Linked DNA regions of Homo sapiens: all the other regions are linked to region 2. The links are contacts of gene promoters, found by promoter capture Hi-C in blood cells and fetal thymus (Javierre and others, 2016). All regions are on one chromosome and are shown on one strand. The core of a region is centred on a gene start or on the middle of the fragment in contact, and the rest is flanking DNA. Distances in the headings are between cores, read along the strand shown.

Region 1 (2,700 bases), core at 23-2,522, 300 kb before region 2:
GTGCCTGGCCAAGAACAGAGATTTAAAAAGACAGACCACTGGGCCTGGTGGCTCATGCCTGTAATCCCGGCACTTTGGGAGGCCGAGCCGGGCGGATCACCTGAGGTCGGGAGTTCGAGACCAGCCTGACCAACATGGAGAAACCTCCTCTCTACCAAAAATATAAAATTAGCTAGGCCTGGTGGCACATGCCTATAATCCCAGCTACTTGGGAGGCTGAGGCAGGAGAATCACTTGAACCCAGGAGAAGGAGGTTGTGGTGAGCCAAGATTGCACCATTGCACTCCAGCCTGGCAGCAGAGCAAGACTCCTCTAAAAAAAAAAAAAAAAAAAAAAAAAAAGGCAACATTGTGGGCCATAAAATAATACCACAACTTATTTAAATGAATGAAATTTCTAAAATATGCTTTCATAGCATTACAAAATTAGACTAGAATTCAGTAATAGAAAGATAAATGGAAAACCTCCAAATATTTGGACATTAAATCATGTACTCTGCAAAACACATGGATCAAAGAAGATGCCTCAATGAAGTTGTAAAAATACATATATATTTTTTGAGATGGAGTTTCACTCTTGTCACCCAGGCTGGAGTGCAGCGGTGCAATGTCAGCTCACTGCAATGTCCGCCTCCCAGGTTCAAAGCGATTCTCCCACTTCACCCTCCCGAGTAGCTGGGTCTACAGGTGCACACCACCACACCCGGCTAATTTTTGTATTTTTAGTAGAGACAGTGTTTCACCATGTTGGCTAGGCTGGTCTCGAACTCCTGACCTCAAGTGATCCGCCCACCTCAGCCTCCCAAAGTGCTGGATTACAGGCGTGAGCCACCATGCCAGGCAATTTTTTGTATTTTTTAGTAGAGATGGGGTTTCACGGTGTTAGCCAGGATGGTCTCAATCTCCTGACCTTGTGATCTGCCCACCTCGGCCTCCCAAAGTGTTGGATTACAGGCATGAGCCACCACACACAGCTGAAAAAATATTTTAAACAAAATGAAATAAAAATGTACCTTGTCAAGATCTGTGGGATGCAGTCAAAGCAGGGCTCGGAGGGAAATTTATAACTGAATGCCATGTGATAGAAAATAAGAAAGACCTAAAGTCAATAACCTAAGCTTTCACATTAGAAAACCAGACAAAACAGAGCAGTGTTATAGAAAGCAGACAGAAGAATAGCAAAAGCAATAATTACTGCAGAAATCAATGGAATGAAAAATCAAAAATCAACAGAGAAAGTTATCAAAACCAACAGCTGTTTCTATGAATAGATAAAAAAAAAAATCAATAAACCTCCAGGCAGGCTAACCATGAAGAAAGGAAGTCATAATGTACTAATAACTAAAGGAGAGGTCATCATTTGTGATTCTATGGGCATTGAGAAGACCATGAGGGAATACTTTGAGAAAATCTATGCCCAGAAATGTGATAAGCTTAGGAACCGATTCCTTCAAAGGCAGAAACTATAAAACTCACCAAGGAGAAATTGATAAACTGAATAAACCTGTATCAATTTTAGACATTGAATCAATCAGTAACTTTTCCAAAAAAAAAAAAAGCACCAGGCTTAGATGGTTTTACTGGTAAATCCTACCAAATTCTTTTTTTTTTTTTTGGAGATGGAGTCTTGCCATGTTGCTCAGGCTGGAGTGCAGTGGCACAGTGTTGGCTCACTGCAGCCTCCACCACCTGGGTTCAAGTTATTCTCCTGCCTCTGCCTCCTGAGTAGCTGGGACTACAGGCATATGCCACCACACCTGGCTAATTTTTGTATTTTTTTTTTTTTGAGACGGAGTCTCGCTCTGTCGCCCAGGCTGGAGTGCAGTGGCGCGATCTCGGCTCACTGCAAGCTCCACCTCCTGGGTTCACGCCATTCTCCTGCTTCAGCCTCCCCAGCAGCTGGGACTACAGGCGCATGCCGCCACGTCTGGCTAATTTTTTTTTGTATTTTTAGTAGAGACGGGGTTTCACTGTATTAGCCAGGATGGTCTTGATCTCCTGACCTTGTGATCCGCCCGCCTCAGCCTCCCAAAGTGCTGGGATTACAGGCATGAGCCACCGCGCCCAGCCTAATTTTTTTATTTTTGGTAGAGACAGGGTTTCACCATGTTGGCCAGTCTGGTCTCGAACTCCTGACCTCACGTGATCTGCCTGCCTCAGCCTCCCAAAGTGCTGGGATTAAAGGCATGAGCCACCGTGCCCAGCAACCCTACCAAATTCTTATGTAGTCTTATCATATAAGTAAGTGATCACAATCCTAAGTATTTACCCAGTTTAATTAAACAATTATGTATGGGCTGGGCCTCCCTACTCGGGAGGCTGAGGCAGGAGAATTGCTTGAACCTGTGAGACATTGGTTGCAGTGAGCTGAGATCGCACCACTGCACTCCAGCCTGGGCGACAGAGCAACACTCTGTCTCAGAAAAAAAAAAAATTATGTCTGTACTAAAAAGTCCACAGGAATGTTTATGGTAGCTTTATCCATACTGCCCACATTGAAAGCAACCTTTATGTTCTTCAGTAGGCGAATGTACCAACAAACTTTGTTACACTGATCAATGGAATATTATCCAGTGATAAAAAACCATTGAGATACATTTGGATTCGATTTATTAATCTCAGTTACCTACTATTCTGACATTTTAGGAAGGAAGTAATTGTTTTTAATGATGGATAAACTTGTGTGGTGTTTCAGATCTTA
Region 2 (2,700 bases), core at 60-2,559:
CAGCACCACATAGCAATTATTGAAACAATTCTCACAGGAGCAGTATCATGCTGGGCTGATTGCGGTCTTTGGAACCAGAAAGACTTGGATTTGAGTCATGACTCTACCCTTTGCTAGCTGCATGGACCTGCATGGTTTATCCAATTTATTGAAGTCTGTACTTTGCTCCTTTTAGGCAGTGGACAAAGCACTTTTTTTGTTGTTGTTTTTTTGAGATAGAGTCTCTTATCGCCTAGGCTAGAGTGCAGTGGCGTGACCTTAGCTCATTGCAACCTCCGCCTCCTGGGTTCAAGCAATTCTCCTGCCTCAGCCTCCCAAGTAGCTGGGATCACAGACAACCACTACCCCACCCAGCTGATTTTTTTTTTTTTTTTTGAGATGGAGTCTCTCTCTGTCACCCAGGCTGGAGTGCAGTGGCGCGATCTCGGCTTACTGCAAGCTCCGCCTGTAGCTGGGACTACAGGCGCCCACCACCACGCCCGGCTAATTTTGTTTTTGTATTTTTAGTAGAGACGGGGTTTCACTGTGTTAGCCAGGATGGTCTCAATCTCCTGACCTCGTGATATGCCCACCTCGGCTTCCCAAAGTGCCGGGATTACAGACGTGAGCCACCGTGCCAGGCCCAAAGCACTTTTTTATAGCCCCTAGTTTGCTGTTGTGTCTGTTTCCTCTACGGCCCGCACAGCCTGGGTTTGAATTCTGGCTCTCCATGGCCTTGGGCAAGTTGGTTAACTTTTTGTGTCTCAATTTCCCCACTTGTAAAGTGGGGCTGGGGAAAAACCCTACCTCATAGGGAACATTAAGTGAGTTCATGAAAGCCCTCGGTGTGTGGCATGCGATAACCACTACCTAAGCATAAGGTATGTTTACATGCACTGGTTGTTTACCACGACGCACCAGCATTCATTCAAGTTATTTTCTTCCAGAGTCTGCCTGGAATGTAGAACCGGCCAGCTCTCCTCCTCAAACAGTTCCTGCAACCTCTGGTTATCTGTGTGGGCAGAGGCGGGAGTGTGGGTGTGTGGCCCTGCCCTGGGACAGGGATGACGAGAGAGCATGTGCTTGTGTCCAGAGCTGTCCCCTTCCCTGCTCAGGGGCCACCAAATATGTCCATGGTCTCTGCTGCCTGGTCAACGGCCACCCCGGGCTGCCGTCTCCTGGCCAGACCTGGAGCTCACAAGCTAATTTTAGAAATGACTGGTCGACTCAGCTGCTGCTATCACATTGGCCCAGAAGGAGGGTGGGGGGAGGACGGGTCGGGGAGGGGCAGTAAGGGGAAGGGATGTGTGTCGGTGTGTGTGGAGAGGGTGCTCCTTCGCTCCTGCTTTCCCGGCTCGGTGGGGTCCCTTCGCGGCCACCCGGGGAGACGTCTTAGACAGTCGTGGTTCCTGTGATCTGTGTCCTCTTTGCAGAAGGTACTATTGGGCTGGGTTTTAGACGGGCACCTTGCGAGCGGATCGGCGAGTTTTAATTTTCCGGAATGCGCTGCTGGGGGCTGCGGTGGCAGGCCTCCGGTCTTTTGGTCTATTTTAGGCCTTTCTGGTGTTGAGAGCTTCCGAGGCCTGATTCCTTTGCCTGTTGCCCGTGCTGCTCACTTTGAAAACAAGAGTGTTTCGGTGGAAGGATTTGAGAACAAAATGCTGGGGCAAATGGACATTCGTAAGAATCACTCTCCTCAGGCCCCAGCTGTTCGCTAATAATTTTTAAAAATGTGTTTAGAATCATGAGTTAATCTCCACTGTGAATCTTTGCCCGCAGACGTCAGGGTTTATATTTTTCCTCAACTACCAGTAATTTCTGCTTCACTGGTGTTCAGTTATGGTCGGGGAAGAGCCAGGCTTCCCCTTTCGTGTTAACAACGCTGTTGAGTCGAAATGTTAATTTTAATGTTCTTTTTTAAACTGCAAATTAAGCATGTATGAGTGTTGGGGGAAGGGCAATGGAAGTTCATGGCTGAAGGTTTCAATTTCATGCCACCTTCCTTGAGCTCTGTCTGAGGGAAGGTGTCTTATCTGGCACCCCGGATAGCAGGCATTTCTCTGAATGAAGAAGATTCACAGGTCCCAGTGGCCCCATAGTGGGGCAGAAGGGGGCTATGCTTTGACATGGAGCTCTCTCCCAGGAGAGGAGAAGACCTCACCAGCTACAGGCCTCTGGGCTGCTGCCTTCCTGCAGCTTTTCCATGGAGGAGGCCAGGAGTGGGGAGGCCCGGAATGGGGAGCCCAGTCGGCTCCCAGTCGGCTCCAAGCTGTCCAGTCTGGCCTCAACCCGCAAGTGTGGGGATCTGGGCTTCTATCCTGTAGGGCCTGGAATACGACGAGGCTGTTACTTTCACTTTGTGGCTGTCCAAAAAGATGCTGCCTCATTCAGTGCACCAGCTCATGGAGGCTGAGTGTCCCACTAGGGCTTCTAGACTCCAACAAGGATAATGGTGGCCTTGGGTGCTGTATCCATTGCTGACCTAAGTTGTATTCTCCTATGCCTGGGTACCATGTCCAGTGTGTACCTTGGGAGCAGAAAAGAGAGGGGTCTATATACTCTTAGGCTATGGATGAGTTCTAGAAAATAATAGTGGAGAGGAGAGAGAGAAAAGAAGGAAGAGGAGGAGGAGAAGGAGAAGAAGAGAAGGAGGAGGAGGAAAAAAGCAGGAGGAGAAAGAGAAGAAGGAGGAGAAGAATAATAGCAAAGGAAAAGGCCAAA
Region 3 (2,717 bases), core at 51-2,550, 260 kb before region 2:
GTGTTCCGGGGGGTGGCGATCATAGAGGCACTGCACCACGCCTGGAGCCAGGGAATGACTTTTGCTTGGCCCTTGAAGTTTCTAGAGGCTGAACTTAAGCGCTGCAGCCCCTTGTACCCACTGCTCAGCCTTTAGTTGGCTTCTTGCAGTGAAATCCCAAAAGGGAAAGCCGGGAAGGCCCTTAAAGACCACTTGATCCAGTGGTTTCCAAACTTTTTTTCTTTTTTTTTTTTTTGAGATGGAGTTTAGCTCTCGTTGCCCAGGCTGGAGTGCAATGGTGTAATCTTGGTTCACCACAACCTCTGCCTCTCAGGTTCAAGTGATTCTCCTGTCTCAGCCTCCCAAGTAGCTAGGATTACAGGCATGTGCCACCACGCCCTGCTAATTTTGTATTTTTAGTAGAGACGGATGGGGTTTCACCATGTTGGTCAAGCTGGTCTCGAACTCCTGACCTCAGGTGATCTGCCCCTATTAGCCTCCCAAAGTGCTGGGATTACAGTCATGAGCCACCGCACCTGGCCCCAAACTTTTTTTTTTTTAAGCAAAGAAATTGTTTCCTGGATAACCTCACATAAAGCATCCCAGTATGTAAAGCAGATAATAGTGTTGGAAGTGACAACCTGGAATTCTGTCCATGGGGACTCTTCTCCTTGTACTCCCACACACAGAAACCCTTCAGCTTATGCTTCCAACGTCAGTGTCCAAAGAAACTTTAGACAAATCCAGCCCCTTCATTCACAGATGGAGACATTATTGTTAGTTGTAGTAAATGTTAGCTAACTACCAGTACTTACACTTTAAACGTGCCTGGCATAGGAGAATGATTTTATATGTCTGATAGTATCAAATCCCCACAACTACCTGATAAACTAAGTATTATAATGACCCTCATTTTGCAGGTGAGTAAACAGAAGTCTAGAGAGGTACAATCACTTCCGAAAGTCACCCAGCTGGTAAGTGGTGAAGGCAGAATTCAGAGCCCAGTGTGGCTGACTCAATAGCCTGTGCCATCCACCCCTACATGAGTTGCCCAGGGAGGTTAGAGACTGTCCCACAGTCTCATAGGAGCTGAGCAGGGACAACGAGGTGGCCTGGTGTGGAGGGAAGGTCACGGGTGTGTGGGGCTGGAGCTCTGGGTCCAAGATGTTCATCAGCTGCCTGTCCTGGCTGGTAAGAGACTGAGGGTGAGTGGTCAGTGAGCATGAGAGGGGGAAGGGAGCCTTGGGAGACCACACTGGAGAACCTGGAACTAGGGAGCTATAGCAGGTGTCTGAGCTAGAGAATTAATCCTACTGTTGGCTGCACATCAATATTGGGACAATAGGCCCAGATGTGTCATTCCTAATAATCACAATGGGGCAGGATGGTGCTCAAAGCACTTTACTGGCATGATCTTAATCATCACAAAGCCTCTATGAGAGAGGTGATGTCATGATACCCATTTTACAGATGAGGTCGCTGGGGGCTCAGGGAAGTGAAGTGCTTTGTCCAGGGTCACGTGGCTGAAGAGTGGGGGAGCTGACACTTGAAGCCAAGACTGGCTGACTTTCAAGCCCACATGCCTCTGTCAGTTAAGTGTGGTGATGGTAATGCTGTGTAACAAACAATCCCCCAAATCTCTGTGCTGTAGGACAGTAAGTGTTGATTTAGCTCGCATGTCTAATGTGGGTTGGCTGAGCCAGGCTGGGCTCAGCTGGGCAGCTGTGTGCTCATCCATGTGTCTCTCATCCTGTCCTGGGATCAGTGGACTAGCCTTGGCATATTCCCCTCCTGCTCATGGCAGGAGTGCAAGGGGGTGAGCAGAAACACACAAAGTCTCTTGAGGCCTAGACTCAGGACCACACAGAGTCACTCCTGCCTCATTCTATTGACCCTAGCAAGTCACAGGGCCAAACCCAGGGTCAATAGGTGGGAAATGGTACTCTGTTCTTTTAACGGGAGGAACTGCAAAGTCGCTTGGCAAGGGTGAGAATACAAAGAAGGGTAAAGAATTGGAGGCAAGTTTTGCATTATATCATATTGTCTGTGCTGGTTTAAAATATGTTCACACAGTCTTTGATAATTCCTTCAAAAGATGGAGCCTAATTCTACATCTCTTGAGTGTGGGCTAGCCTTACTGACTCCCTTTTAATGAATAGAACAAAGTGGAAGTGATGGTGTGCAACTTCCAAGGCAAGGTCATAAAAGACATTGTGGCTCCCTCCTCGCTCTCTTGAGGATCACCCACTCTAGGGAAGCCAGCTGCCATGTCGTGGGGATATTCAAGCAGCCCAGTGGAGAGACCCATGTGGTGAGGACCTGTGATCTCCAGCCAGCAGCTGTGTGAGTGGCCTATCTTGGAAGCAGCTCCTCCAGCCCCAGTTCAGTCTTCAGATGAGACTGCAGCTGCAGCTGACATCCTGACTGCAACCTGATGAGAGACCCAGAGTCAGAACTGCTCAGACTAAAGTTGCTCCTGAATTTCTGACCCGCAGGAACTGTGAGACAACAACTGTTTATTGTTTTAAGTTGCCAAGTTCTGGGGTAGATTTGCTTGCAGCAATAGATACGAATGCTGTGTCTAAGTATTCTGCCAACTCACTGCTGCCATAGCAAGGCCCATCATAACAAGCGAGGCTTGGATGGAAGCAGCTTTGTCTTCTACCCAGAGAACCAGCAAAATCCCAACAATTTACCAAGATTAGAGAACCAAAAATACCCATGGAAACTATAGTTGT

What was found. The method cuts DNA at HindIII sites, captures the fragments that hold promoters and counts their contacts. A CHiCAGO score of 5 or more calls a contact.
Region 1: a contact is called between a fragment that was not itself captured here and the fragment with the promoter of MYO18B in region 2, in 1 of 17 cell types (fetal thymus). The highest score is 5.6, in fetal thymus.
Region 3: a contact is called between a fragment that was not itself captured here and the fragment with the promoter of MYO18B in region 2, in 1 of 17 cell types (total B cells). The highest score is 5.3, in total B cells.

Annotation. Positions count from the first base shown.
Region 1 is chr22:25,440,701-25,443,400 of GRCh38, forward strand. No RefSeq gene overlaps it. Among named protein-coding and RNA genes, the nearest start is that of MIR6817, 14 kb to the right of the region's middle. The HindIII fragment of the contact is 315 bases long and covers 1,116-1,430 here.
Region 2 is chr22:25,740,879-25,743,578 of GRCh38, forward strand. It overlaps MYO18B (myosin XVIIIB), which reads left to right and starts at 1,310. Exons shown (of 44, transcript NM_032608.7): 1 at 1,310-1,415. The HindIII fragment of the contact is 14,245 bases long and covers 1-2,700 here.
Region 3 is chr22:25,475,971-25,478,687 of GRCh38, forward strand. It overlaps LOC124905094 (a long non-coding RNA gene), which reads left to right. Exons shown (of 2, transcript XR_007068036.1): 1 at 1-1,634; 2 at 2,218-2,717. Among named protein-coding and RNA genes, the nearest start is that of MIR6817, 22 kb to the left of the region's middle. The HindIII fragment of the contact is 3,329 bases long and covers 1-2,717 here.